Regions from separate parts of the Homo sapiens genome. Here all the other regions are linked to region 1. The links are contacts of gene promoters, found by promoter capture Hi-C in human tissues and cell types (Jung and others, 2019). All regions are on one chromosome and are shown on one strand. The core of a region is centred on a gene start or on the middle of the fragment in contact, and the rest is flanking DNA. Distances in the headings are between cores, read along the strand shown. Region 1 holds the start of MFSD2A (MFSD2 lysolipid transporter A, lysophospholipid). Region 2 has its middle 22 kb from the start of PABPC4-AS1. Region 3 overlaps HEYL (hes related family bHLH transcription factor with YRPW motif like). Region 4 holds the start of ZMPSTE24 (zinc metallopeptidase STE24).

Region 1 (3,466 bases), core at 662-3,161:
AGGTTCTGGCCTCCATCCAAGAAGGTTCCACAGGAAGGACCATCCCTCTGGCCAGCTCTACCAGAACAAACAACTCTGCTTTGACCTGTTCCTATCCAGGAGATCCCACCTTTTTTTTTTTTTTTTTTTTTTTTTTTTTTGAGACAGAGTCTTGCTCTGTTGCCCAGGCTGGAGTGCAGTGGTGCCATCTCGGCTCACTGCAAGCTCCGCCTCCTGGGTTCACGCCATTCTCCTGCCTCAGCCTCCCAAGTAGCTGGGACTACAGGCACCCACTACCACACCCAGCTAATTTTTTGTATTTTAAGTAGAGACGGGGTTTCACCATGTTAGCCAGCATGGTCTCGATCTCCGAGATCCCACTTTATACAAAAGAAAGGTGTTCTCCATTCTTAGGAACATGGAAAAGGGGAATCCATACTTGTGTGAAAGTAGCCCCTAAGCCACCTCCCTCCTGGAGATTCTAAGGAAACTTATCAGCCCACCATCCCTAAAGAACTCCTCCCAAGGCCTCAGGCACTGCTCCTTTCCAGGTTTCAGGGGGAGCATGCTCCAGCAGCCGACCTGTCCCCACCCGGCACCAGCTGCCACAACCTGAAAATCCGCTTGCTGCCAAGAGCTGCCTGAGCCCAGCCCAGGCTCCCACCCTGCCTCAGAGACAGGATCCACCTGCCTACTCCTGGTGAGAGCTCTAGAGAGCTACGGGGGCCCGGCCCAGCTGGCTGCAGGCGCAGCTGTTCCACCTATCCCAGAGCATCCCTGACCACTATAGGCAGCCAGAGCTTCAGGCGGACCCAGGAACTGTCCTACTCTCCAGCTTCCCGACCCATCGCCCTCCACCCCTGAGCTCCTAGAGGACCTTGGAGACGGGAGGAAAGGCCTCCAGGTTCAGGCCTGATCCCTCTCCGGGTGGGGCACTAGGGAGGTTGGGTTGCCCAGGGAAAGTAGATATTACTCATACATAGTAACAGCATAATTGCTCACCCAGCTCCTTCCAAAGATCAGTTAATAAAATTAAAAGGAAAAGGCAGTCACCTCCCACGAAGGTATCTATTGCCTGAGATCCTTTCCTAGGGGGCCGCCTCATTTTATTTGGTCCTTCAATAAGTCCCCAGGGCTGGGGATGTGGTCGATGGTCTCGATGCGCAAAGCACCGTTCCCGCGCGAACATCCACATTCAGACAAATGCCTGAGGGACGCGGCTCCTTTAAGAGCAGAGCTCTTGTTCTTATGAATGAACTTGAGCGGCCCTAACAGCAGAGTTGAGGCGCAAGAGTAGGTGGGTGGAGTGGGAGGTAGGGGATGAGAGATGGGGAACCAAGGGGAGTTTCCCAGATTTCTGGGGTCATCTCTGGGGTTTGGGGCGGCAAGCCCCAGCCGCTCAACACGGAAGAATGGAAACCGGCTAGGCAGAGCGGGGAATCACATGGGGCTGCCGGCAGAGCCTCTCCGCAGAGCGTGGAGTGCGGGTGAGCAAAGGGGGGCGAGGGCGCCCACAGCTTTTCTCCGTCACCCCCTGTCCCAGGGCACCCCCAGGTCCTCTCTGGCTCGTAGGCTTCCTGTCCCTGGCTATCCCAATGGTCCCCTGACCAGGCCGACCCCGGGACGCCCCTGATCCCCCATTTCCGCCTCCTCCCTCCCCTCGCCCTCCACGCGGGGTGCCGGGCCCTCACCTTCACCTGGGCCGGGCGTTCAGTGCTTTGGAGGATGCTGGTGGGTAGCAGCCCCGCCGCGGAGCCGCTCTCGGCGCCTTCTCCTTTGGCCATGACCCGCGGGCCACGCCGCTTGGGACCTGGTAGACGGGATGCTCCTCTGCCCCGCAGGCCGCTGCTCCTCCCAAGCTCGCTTCGTAGCAGCCTTAGCCACGGCCGCCGCGCGCTAGCCAAGCCGGCTGGCAGACGAGGAACGCACTCTGCTGCACGCCCCCTCCGCGCCTCTTATAGTTCTGCCCAGCCCTCTCGGTTGCGGCCAATCCCCGAGCCCCGCTGCCCCGCCTCCAGCCAATCCCGTCGCCCGCCTCCCTGCCCCCGCCTCGCCCGGCGGCTCTGTGCCACCGAGCCACGTTCTCCAAGCCCCGGAACCGGCATCTGCCTGCGCTGGCTCCTAGCAATCCGAGAAGCAGGCCGCGAGACCTCCCAGACACGCGCGAGGAAACCGAGGCCCCAGGCTGAAAGTGATCTGCCCGGGGTCCCCGATCTGCCCGAGGTCCCCGAGGTCCCCAAGGTCCGACTCTCCCCGAGTCGGGCCTACCACCCATGACTTCTGAGCCCCAGGCCTAGGAAAGGTAGGGGCTCTGAAGCCCACTTTAAAATCTGGAGTCAGGGCCTCTCTCCTTCTTCAAGCCTAGAGGACGTACGCTGACACTTTCCCTCCTGATGCCTCTCTCTCATCCCCGAAGACACACCATTCCCCCGTCCTGCCCTTGGCATCCGGGCAATGGGGAGAAAGATGAGGCAATCCAGTGGCTGCCCCTGCCAGAAGGGAGCTCCCAAGTCGTGGAGAGAAGCCGGGGCTACGCCCGCTAGTACACTATGACAACAGTGGCCTTTTTATGGATAGCTTCCTCCATGCTTAATATGATCTCTTTCGGCCCTCAAAAACCACCAAGTGAGGGTGGTACTATTATTATCCCCATTTTACAGCACAGGAAGGGGAAACTTGGAGAAGTGAAGCAACTGTTATGTAGCAGAGCCAGGCCTGAAAGGTTTTGTCCGATACCAAAGCAGTTGCTCTCAACAGCCCTGCTCTATCCCTCTTAGCATAAATTACAGACGGCAGAATGGGGTGTATGTGTCTCCCAACAAGAAGCCCTGGGAGATACATGGCTCCAGAGGCACTGAGGGTTGAAACAGGGAAAGTTTTGAAAAAGAGAATGCCCAGAAATGTGGTCCTCAAAAGAAGATGGGAGGGCATTAGTTTGGAACAGAAGGCAGGCACGGATGCCAGAAAAGAACAGTCTTTAGTTCCACCTCTGAGTCCCTTATGTCAATGTCACCCCGGTCTTTCCAGTTCTCTGATTAGTGAAGGGGCTGCTGGAACTCTCAAAGGCTACCCACCCGGTTCCTGTGCTCCTTAATGTCAGCCTCCTTCTTCCTTTCTTTAAATCTCTGATTGCAGGGAGGAGAGATAAGGTCTATCTGCCCCAGGATGGTCACACCATGCTCCCTCATACGCCAGCAGATCCCATCTGGGCACACAGCTCTTGGCCATTGCTGAGCAGAAGAGAGCCAAAGTGAGGCACTGAATACTGTGGAAAGGGAATGGCTGGCCCCATTACTCCAAGCTGTGTGACACTGTTCTGTCTCTTTTCCCCTCTCCAGGCTTGGTTAGCTAAGCTCCCTTGCAGCCCCCAAATCTTCTCTCCCACAGTCACACCATACCACAAGTGATCTGTATCCCCCGGTTGACAATGAGCTCCTCAGGTAGGAACCGCATCTTTTTCACTTCTGTGTCCCCACCAACTAGCTTA
Region 2 (3,466 bases), core at 345-2,844, 410 kb after region 1:
GACAGGATCTAGTTCTGTTGCCCAGGCTGGAGTGCGGTGATGTGATCACGGCTTACTGCAGCTTCAACCTTCCAGGCTCAAGTGATCCTCCCAGCTCAGCTTCCCAAGTAGCTGGGACCACAGGCATGCACCACCATGCCCAGCCAATTTTTTATTGTTTTTTGTACAGATGGAGGTTTCACTATGTTTCCCAGCTAATTTTTTTTTTTTTTTTTTTGAGACGGAGTCTTGCTCTGTTGCCCAGGCTGGAGTGCAGGGGCGCAATCTTGGCTCACTGCAAGCTCCGCCTCCCAGGTTTACGCCATTCTCCTGCCTCAGCCTCCCAATTAGCTGAGACTACAGGTGCCCACCACCACGCCCAGCTAATTTTTTTGTATTTTTAATAGAGACGGGGTTTCACCATGTTAGCCAGGATGGTCTCGATCTCCTGACCTTGTGATCTGCCCGTCTCGGCCTCCCAAAGTGCTGGGATTACAGGCATGAGCCACCGCACCCAGCCCTTTTGTATTTTTTTTTGTAGAGATGGTGGGTTTTGCCATGTTGTCCAGTCTGGTCTTGAACTGGACTCAAGTGATCCTCTTACCTCGGCCTCCCAAAATGCTGGGATTACAGACATGAGCGGCCGCACCCAGCCAGAAAAGTACTATTTTTAAGGGTATCAATCAGAAACTAAAACTTTCTCTCCTTACTATTCAGCCCATCTCCCAGAGGTAGCTACAATTGACAGTTGTGTTTTCCTTTTTTTCTTAAGTATTCATGATGACCTTTTTTTACCCATAATCTTTTTTGTCTTAATCTAGCTTTTAAAAATGTTTCTTAAAGTCATAATTGCACATAGTTTAAAGAAAATCGTTCTATAATAAAACATTCTTCTGCTCCCCCAACATAATTTTTCTGCCCTGCCAGAGGCAACATTCATTTCTTTTAACTATTTTAATTATTTGGGCTTTTATTGCTATGTCTCTGAAAAATATACTCATATTACTATTAGTAATCCCAGACTGGAGTACAATGGCATGATCTTGGCTCACTGCAACCTCCGCCTCCCGGGTTCAAGTGATTCTCCTGCTTCAGCCTCCCGAGTAGCTGGGATTACAGGCGCCCACCACCATGCCCAGCTGGTTTTTATATTTTTAGTAGAGACAGGGCTTCACCATGTTGGCCAGGCTGGTCTTGAACTCCTGACCTCAGGTGATCCACCCACCTCTGCCTCCCAAAGCGCTGAGATTACAGGTGTGAGCCACGGCGCCTGGCCTCCCTCCTCTGCTATCCATTTTAGATACCTCTCATCCTCACCTCAGCTGGTTCCTCTGCTAATCTAAATGGCTTATCAGGTGGGGTGACCTAGACCTTTGTCTGTGGGGATTTGAGCTCCTGGTCATTATATACCTTCTCAGGTCATCGCTGCCTAGCATAATTGGGTGGGGGAGTCCAAATGTTTATTCAGTTGTCCTAAGACCAGTTTATAGAAAGTCCATCTTTGACCCAGTGATTTAAGATGCCAAGCTTTATGAAATATTTAATTCCTTTATATATATATATATATATACACACGCACACACACACACACACACATATATATGCATATATACACACACATATACATACATACACATATATATACATTTTTGTATATGTGTGTGTGTGTGTGTGTGTATATATATATATATTTTTTTTTTTTTTGAGACGGAATTTCACTCTTGTTGCCCAGGCTGGAGTAAAATGGCATGATCTCAGCTTACTGCAACCTTTGCCTCCCGGGTTCAAGTGATTCTCCTGCTTCAGCCTCCCGAGTAGCTGGGATTACAGGCACATGCCACCATGCCGAGCTAATTTTCTGTATTTTTATTAGAGATAGGGTTTTACCACATTGGTCAGGCTGGTCTTGAACTCCTGACCTCAGGTGATCCACCCACCTCGGCCTCCCAAAGTGCTGGGATTACAGACCCGAGCCACCGCACCTGGCCTATGTATATATTTTAATAGAGATGAGGTCTTGCCGTGTTGCCCAGGCTGGTCTCCAACTCCTCTGCTCAGGCAATCCTCCTGCCTTGGCCTCCCCAAGTACTGAGATTACAGATGTGAGCCACCATGCCTAGCTGAAATACTGAATTTTCATACGTTTCTGGGTCTATTCGGGACTTTCTCTTCTTTTCACCTAGTCTGTTCTATCTATTTGTGTGCCACTTCCACACTTAAGCATTTAGTTTAAATAAAGGTACTATGTACTTTTTTAGATTTGGAGAGCTGGAGTTTGGGGGTGTGTGTGTATTTTATTTCAGAGACAGGGTCTCACTTTGTCACCTAGGAGTGTGCCACCATGCCTAGCTAGTTTCTGTATTTTTAGTAGAGATGGGGTTTTGCCATGTTGGCCAGGCTGGTCTCGAACTCCTGACCTCAGGTGATCCACCCACCTTGGCCTCCCAAAGTGCTGGGATTACAGGCATGAGCCACCGTGGCTGGGACCCAAATGATTATTTTTATTTTTGTAGAGATGGCATGTTACAGAGAGCTGGAGTTTTAATTATCTAGTTAGATATTCTTACCTCAGCACTTTTCTCTTTCTCAATCCCAGAGAATTTTCTCTACATGTGCACCCATTTAAAGGACTCGGCTTCAAGGGAAGCAGCTTCCACCGCATTATCCCCCAGTTCATTTGCCAGGGCAGTGATTTCACAAACCACGGTGGCACCAGGGGTAAGTCCATCTACAAGAAGAAATTTGATGATGAAAACTTTATCTTCAAACACACAGGACCAGGTAGGAACCACTCATCGTGTGGTGACAAGGGAGGCTGGGCGAGGGCAGCTGGCCGTGCAGGGTGGAAGGATGAGCCGTGGTTCTGGCTGAGAAACAGGGAATCTGGAGGAGACCCAGCTACCAGACACAGGAGAACCGTTCAGCCTTGCTAGGGTGGAGTTAGCTTTGGGCTTTGAAAAGCTTTTCTGTTTTTTATTTTGGGTTATTTCAGTTCCCATTTGTCTCCTTTCATTAAAAGAGGAAGAAGCATAGACGCCTGGGTCTGCTCCTACAGGGGTGTCTTGTTATTGTTTTTGTAACTTTTTATTTTATGTAATGTCAAGCTCACGGAAGAGTTACAAGAATAGTGCGATGAACCCCATACACCTTTGCTGGCATTTACTCAAGTTCACCAGTTGTTTATATTGGTGAACATCATTTCCTATTTATTCTCCTTCTGTGTATTTTTATAGACAGTGCGTATTTTTTTAGAGCCATTTGAAAGTAAGTTGGAGAGTTCATGTTCCTCTACCACTAAATACTTCAGCATGTATTTCATAAGAAACAGGGTATTTTTAATGTTACCAGGACATAGTTCTCAAAATCAGAAAACAAACACTGCTACAATACTATTCTCTCAACTGCAGTGCATATTCAGATTTCCTCATGTGACAGCACGTCATCCTTTTGGGGCTTTTCATGGTTGGCACGTGTCCTAGACTCATAG
Region 3 (3,466 bases), core at 674-3,173, 320 kb after region 1:
CACCCCCAGCTCTTCGCAGATGCAAGCCAGGAAGAAACACAGAGGGGTGAGTGTCCGTCTCAGCCTCTGAGTTGACCAACAAAGGGTTGCCATGAATCCCCTGCAGTCTGGCGGCGGGGAGAACCCTAGGCAGAAATTTCACCATGAAGCTAACTGCTTGGGTTCAAATCCCGGCTCTGTCACTAGCTATCAGGGTGATTCCAGGCAAGCCTGTTAACCTCTCTGAGCCTGATTTGCTCCTTTGTGTAACTGGAATAATGAGAGGGCCCACCTCAAAGGGCTGCTTTACAGATTAAGTGCATTAATGTAATGCTCTAAACAATAGCAGACACACAATAGGCCATTATGATTGTTGTTCCTATCTTCTGTCTCCTCTCTGAGTCCAGAACTTTCATCCCCCTCAGTGTGCCGGGGTGGGGGAGGGGACAGAAGAAGGATCCCCACTTGCCGCTGTCATCTGTCCATCATGTTCAGCCCCACTTTCCTCCCAGGATGCAGCTGTGTTTCTGCACTGGGAGTCCAGACACCTGGGGTCTGGCAGAGAGCAGCCTGACACTCACTGACTGTAAGCCCTTAGGCAAACCACTTCCTTCCAGCCCTCATTTTCCTTATCTGTAAAATGGGGTCATATCTGTCCTGCTCCCGGTGTTCTGCTACCAGTATTGGAGGGAAGAATGAGAGTGTGTGGGTGGAAGGGCCCTGCAGCTAGAGAGAGCAACACGTGGGACTCCCCAAACCATCTCATGACCTCACAGATGACGGGGTCACCCTCCTGGCCCAGCACGGGCCTCCAGGGCCTGCTCCAGCACCGTGGCTGGTGTCCTCATTGTGATTGGCTGTGCCCTGCTGTACCAGTGGTTAAACATCTTGAATATCACCCCTATAGACCGAGACAAGAGATCTGAGTTGTACTCCCAGCTCTGCGCTTTCTTGCTGTGTGACCTTAAGCAAATCACTGTCCTTCTCTGGGCCTTGGTTTTCTCCACCATAAAGTAAGACTAGATTGATCTCCCTCACAAAAATACTGTGTGGGTAAATATGAGTTGATGACCATCAAGGCACTTTGGAAACTGTGATGACACACCTGTGAGTAACTTCTTGTCATGATTGTTTAGATCATAGAGAAACGGCGTCGAGACCGCATCAACAGTAGCCTTTCTGAATTGCGACGCTTGGTCCCCACTGCCTTTGAGAAACAGGTATGTGACATTGCTGATTGTGCTAGAGGAAATACTGTGTGGGTGGCAGATAAGGTTCGTTTCTCATGGCATCTCTTGTTGATTGGTAGCAGCTGCCTGAGATGCTGTGATCATTTACCAATATCTGTCACTGGCCAGGGTAAAAGGAATGGAAATTTATACTTAGGTGTCTCAGGTGTCTTTATGTCTATCATCCCATTGAATTGACTCCTCAAAATGATCCCAAAGGTTAGGGATTATTATGCCCATGGCACAGGTAAAGAAACTGAAGCACAGAGAGGTGAAGTAACTTACACCAGATCACGCAGCTAGTAAATAGCAGGGCACAGGACTGTGTGATTCTCAAGCCCTCATCCCTCTGCACTACAGACATTTCTAGAGTGACTTGAAAGTGGAAAAGGCTGCTCAGGGAGTGAGCACTCTACCATTGAGCATGTTAGGTGGGGGAACTACAGCGGGGAATCAGACAGTGGACTCAGCCTCAGAAATTCTCACCCTATGCACCAAGGCATAGGTCACGGGTCCTCTGCCTTCCTTTATGCTGGTGAGAACAAGTCAGTCATCCCACAGATGTTCACTAAAACCATCACAGGACCAGCCATGAACTAGACCTAGTATCTGCCCTCAAGGGACTCCCATGGAGCCTCTGATCTTCAGGCTTCACCTGGAAAGCTTAGGAAGCATTTCCCAAGAGAGAAAAGAGGAAGAACAAGTGGTCTGGGGATAAGATGATGAGCTAGATCTTGGGCACATTGAGTCTGAAGTTGGATTCCCTGAAGAGCTGGTTTAAGAGGCATTCTGAGGATGGTGGCTAAAGCCATGGAGGTGACAAGCCTCTCTGCAGGGAGCAGCAGAATGCGAAGTGACACAGAAGGGACAGTACTGTGTTAAGAGACGGCAGATCAAGAGGCATGGTGAAAGGAGAGCCCAGAAACAGTGGTGTCGTGCAAGTCAAGGGAGGAGTGGTTTCAGGAAAGATGATCGGCAGCTGTACAGTGGACAGATGGTCTGAGAGGAGAACTGAAAAGAATGTTCTAGATTTGGAGAACTTGGCCAAAGCAGAAGCCCATTTGCAGGCAGCAGTGGAGTGGGAGGAAGGTGAGAAAATCGAGACAGTGAGTGCTGATGACACCGCACAGCTACATGGTCAGCTGCAGGCTCCACCCTTCTGTCTTCTGTACCCGCAGGGCTCTTCCAAGCTGGAGAAAGCCGAGGTCTTGCAGATGACGGTGGATCACTTGAAAATGCTCCATGCCACTGGTGGGACAGGTACCCATGCTCTTCTCTTTCAGGCGTCATTCATACAACAAATATTTTGAGGCTGGGCCCTGGGGATATGCTGGTGAGCAAAGTCCACACGCTGCCCACTCTGAGGAGCTCAGTCAATGGAGGGAACATTTGCAAAGCTTCTCTCTCTCCTTTCAGCATCTCCCTCTCCACTTTCAGTGTCTCCATTTGTCGCAACCTTTTCCTCAGTTCAGCTCCCTCCAGTCTTAGACCTGGGAGGCGCTTTCTTCTGTAACAGACTGTTCCTATGGGTCCCACTCTTGTCCAACCCAGGACCTCATTAAGAATTCACCTGAATGAGCTAATTCTCACTGGGATCCCAATCTGACCCCCCTTAACCCAGGGAGGAGCCTGGTATCCTACCCACTGGTCTAGCCTTCTGGGCTACTGTGGGGTCCTTGGCAGAACTGGGGTGACATATCATGCTCACCACAGGTCTCAGGATTGTAGCAGGACACAAATTAACTCATTTTGTTATTTTAAGCCCATCAGTTACAATAAAGTAAGGGAACAGTGGCTTTAAAGACACTTCCAGACAAATAGAAATTCTGTCTACTCAAAGTTTCTCTGTGTATTTGGTGATTTCAAAATTGGGAAACCTTGAAAGCTCCACAGGCCTTGGCCACAAAGACCTAAGTTCCAGAGACCTAACTTACTGCTACAGAAGAGGACAGTAGCATTTTAAGTGGCCCATTCTGGTGCTTCTGAAGCCTCAGTGTATACCATTGTCACCTTGGGGCAGGCAGAATCAGGAGTCATCCCCCAGAGATTCTGAGGCAGTAGGTCTAGATTGAAGTTTAGGAGTTTGCAAGTTTAACAAGCCACCCAATTATCCTGGTGCAGGTGGTCCATTTGGGAACTTCTGCCAAAAAAAATGCATTGCTAAGAGTGGAGACTTCCATCTCTAATGAACCAATGGGGGAGATTCAAATTACATTTATGGTTATCCAGTGAAAAGAAAAGTAGTGACTAATATGTGG
Region 4 (3,466 bases), core at 522-3,021, 300 kb before region 1:
ATTTCAGTCCAGGAAATGTAATACAGAGAATGGATACCAAACAAAATAATGGGCCACTACAACATGCTTTCCCTATATATTGTTGTGTGCCAATAAAAGCTGAGGGGAGATCGAGCACGGTGGCTCATGCCTGTAATCCCAGCCCTTTGGGAGGTGGAGGCGGCAAGATGACTTGAGTCCAGGAACTCCAGACCACCCCGGGCAACATCTCTACAAAAAAATCAAACAATTAGCCAGGCACAGTGATCCGCACCTGTGGTCCTAGCAACTCAGAAGGCTGAGGTGGAGGTGGAGGGGTCGTTTGAGCCCACGAGTTCGAGGCTGCCTTGAGCTATGATGATGCTACTGTGCTCCAGTCTGGGTGGCAGAGTGAGCCCCTGTCTCTAAATACAATAAATATTCTATCCTGGCCAAGATGGTGAAACCCCGTCTCTACTAAAAATACTAAAATTAGCTGGGCGTGGTGGCACGTGCCTGTAATCCTAGCTACTCGGGATGCTGAGGCAGGAGAATCATTTGAACATCCCTCCCTCTGCGCGCTGCTGGCAGTGTCACAGACACACTCTTCCCCTTGCAGACTCTCCCTCGTCCCTCCTAGTTTCTTGCAGTGAGCCGAGATAACGCCACTGTACTCCAGCCTGGTGACAGAGCTAGACTCTAAAATTAAATAAATAAATAAAGATTAAAAATAAATAAATAAAAGTTCAGATCTCTAAACCATGGTTATCTCAGGTAAATTGTTAACTTTCACTTTTTATTTTACCATTTTAATATTTAAACTAAAATAATGTTGATTTTATGAAAAACGAGAAATATATTTCATTTAATTTCATTTATTTATTTATTTTGAGATTGAGTTTCACTCTTGTCGCCCAGGCTGGAGTGCAGTGGCACAATCTCAGCTCACTGCAACCTCCGCCTACTGGGTTCAAATGATTCTCCTGCCTCAGCCTCCCAAGTAGCTGGGACTACAGGTGCGCGCCACCACACCCGGCTAATTTTTCTATTTTTAGTAGAGACGGGTTTTCGCCACGTTGGTCAGGCTGGTCTCGAACTCCTGACCCCAGGTGATCCGCCCGCCTCGGCCTCCCAAAGTGCTGGGATTACAGGCATGAGACACCACGCCGGGCCCGATAAGTTTTTTGTTTGTTTGTTTGTTTTTTCAAGCAGAAACAATATATGCACTTTAAGGAGAAACAAGAGTGCAAGTTCTTGGAAGGACTGCAAAATCCTATGGTTAGGCATGATTACATAAATGTCATGAGGAAGTTGGGTGTCTAAATCCTTTTAAAGGCTTATTCCAAAGATAAAGGAGGCCAAGTCTGGGCCCAAGGATCCCAAGGAAGCTGCAGGGAGGGCACAAGAGCCCAAGCCTTCCTCCAGGCCCTAAAGGGATTGGGTCCCATGATAACGTTACAGAAAACTTCCTTGACGCACCAAGACCCTCCTCAAAGCCACAGTCCGCCATCGGGCCAAGTTACGAGACTCAGCAGGGACCACAAAGACGAGACTGGCGCGGGGACCGAAGCAATCAAGAGTCTCAGGGTCGAAGCCAAGGCTACTCCAGGGCTGGCCGGGTATGGGGGTCAGGTTGGACCCTGTCTAGGCTCACCTGCCGCTGTGCTAGGAAGGTCTCCCAAAGATACACTGTCCAGGAAAAGAGCAGCACGGCCCCGAAGATACGCTTCTCGGCCGGCATCTCCCACAAAGCGTCCAGCGATGCCCACATCCCCATGGCCACCCGGTTCCGCCGGCTCCTTCAGCGTGCACCGGTGCCACACCGACACTCGTCCCTTCAGAGCGTCCCCGCGGTGTCACAGCAATATCCGTTCTTTCCGAGGGCCCCTACGCCGATACCCGCCCCCATCCCTCCCTCTGCGCGCTGCTGGCAGTGTCACAGACACACTCTTCCCCTTGCAGACTCTCCCTAGTCCCTCCTAGTTTCTACAGGAAAAGCCCCAGCCCCACCTTCCTCACTTCCGGCCCAAAGAGGGCGGGGACCCAAACGCCGAGTTCCGGGCCCGGCTGAGCTGTGTTGCATCAACATTCTTCCCCCACGTCTTGACGCTGGGTTCCGGCCTAGGGTTCTGGCTTTCCTCCTGGGCTAGTGAACGCGGCGAAGTCCTCCTCTTTCTAATCTCCAGAGCCGCAGTTCCATCCTCTGGGTCAGCGGCTTACCCTGACTGGGCTGCGGTATCTGCCTTCCTTCCCCCAACAAGGCGACAGGTAGTCGGGGCTGGGGCCGGAACTGACTGAGTGGGCCGCAACTGACTGAGTGGGCCGCGGCTCCCGCCTGAGGAGGCTAGGAAGGACTGAACAGCAGCCGACTTCCCAGGCTCTAAAAATCGTGCCTCTGAGTTAGAGCTACCTCAAAAGCAAGACCAAGCATGAGAAATGGAGTCTTTTGGCCAGTATTGGGGTGTTCGGAATTCAAGCGTATGAGAGAGTGGACGGTAGCGTTGAGAATTTTCATTTGAAGATCTCGTCTTAACCACCCCAAGTGTAGTCAGAGGCGGCGTTTTCCCTGCGAGAGTGCCCTGGAACAAAGCAAGGATAGCGTGGGTTAGACATACCTGAAATGAAAGCGTCTTACTTTATCTAGGTACATATTTGCGTCAGTAAGGCGCAACGCCATTTCTCTCTTGGAATTCAGAAGTGAAATATGGTGACTGGGACGCCTGTACATTGCTTTGACTTAAAAATTGAAGTCCATTATTCTGACCGAAAGTTAATCTGATGATTAATTGGTTAAACATACTATCGTTGCTAATTAGCATAATTATTATTTACAATAAAGTGAGCTAAATAGCTACAACTAAAATATATTTAAATTACTGTGATATTGTGATGCTAAAGATGTGTTGAAATTAATATCTTGAATTTCTCAACCCTGCCTAAATGCCTCTGAGAGTAATTAGTATAATTAAAAGTCACTAGAGAAAGTGAATGACTCTAATAACAGGATAACAAATTCTTTTCAAGTCAGATGGTTTCCAGTTCTTTGCTTTCAACAAAATTAATGGTGGCCCATGAATTGTCAGCTGATGAAGGAACACTATTTGGTTTTTGGCATGCAACTCGGAAAGAAACCAAACGATTGATTGACATGCTTACAACAAAACTACTAGCATTCTCACCTATTTATGTAAAACCATTTCTCAGCACTTGTATCTGTGAAAACAACAGAATTGAAAATGAACCCTGTTAATCTACCAGTAGGAACTATTCATCCAGATAAATGAATTAATTGGTGGGTCAGCCCCATCTATCTCACTAAGAGATGTGTTCCCAATAGAATTTCACCTTTTATAACTGTGTGTTATCAATATTTGCAATCGTGTCATTTTGATCCATTATATACTAAAGATGATTGTGATGATTACTCACTTCAGAAGAATTCCAGCGTAGAGCCATAAAGTTACACGAAATTTTTTAAGGTTTACTACATATGTCATATTTTTATTGC

The links. The method cuts DNA at HindIII sites, captures the fragments that hold promoters and counts their contacts. A contact is called where the count stands out against the background at its distance.
Region 2: a fragment that was not itself captured here is called in contact with the fragment with the promoter of MFSD2A in region 1 in 1 of the 25 tissues and cell types used here (hippocampus).
Region 3: a contact is called between a fragment that was not itself captured here and the fragment with the promoter of MFSD2A in region 1, in 1 of the 25 tissues and cell types used here (IMR-90 fibroblasts).
Region 4: the fragment with the promoter of ZMPSTE24 here is called in contact with the fragment with the promoter of MFSD2A in region 1 in 1 of the 25 tissues and cell types used here (stomach).

Annotation. Positions count from the first base shown.
Region 1 is chr1:39,953,590-39,957,055 of GRCh38, reverse strand. It overlaps MFSD2A (MFSD2 lysolipid transporter A, lysophospholipid), which reads right to left and starts at 1,911. Exons shown (of 14, transcript NM_032793.5): 1 at 1,671-1,911. The coding sequence starts at 1,763. RefSeq lists a silencer at 1,960-2,089. The HindIII fragment of the contact is 9,041 bases long and covers 1-3,466 here.
Region 2 is chr1:39,540,951-39,544,416 of GRCh38, reverse strand. It overlaps the pseudogene PPIEL. Among named protein-coding and RNA genes, the nearest start is that of PABPC4-AS1, 22 kb to the left of the region's middle. The HindIII fragment of the contact is 4,869 bases long and covers 1-3,466 here.
Region 3 is chr1:39,629,229-39,632,694 of GRCh38, reverse strand. HEYL (hes related family bHLH transcription factor with YRPW motif like) reads left to right here. Exons shown (of 5, transcript NM_014571.4): 2 at 1-46; 3 at 1,116-1,199; 4 at 2,387-2,468. Among named protein-coding and RNA genes, the nearest start is that of HEYL, 8.7 kb to the left of the region's middle. The HindIII fragment of the contact is 5,291 bases long and covers 1-3,466 here.
Region 4 is chr1:40,256,541-40,260,006 of GRCh38, reverse strand. It overlaps ZMPSTE24 (zinc metallopeptidase STE24), which reads right to left and starts at 1,771. Exons shown (of 10, transcript NM_005857.5): 1 at 1,613-1,771. The coding sequence starts at 1,735. RefSeq lists enhancers at 1,361-1,460, 1,551-1,830, 1,911-2,180, 2,411-2,540. The HindIII fragment of the contact is 19,109 bases long and covers 1-3,466 here.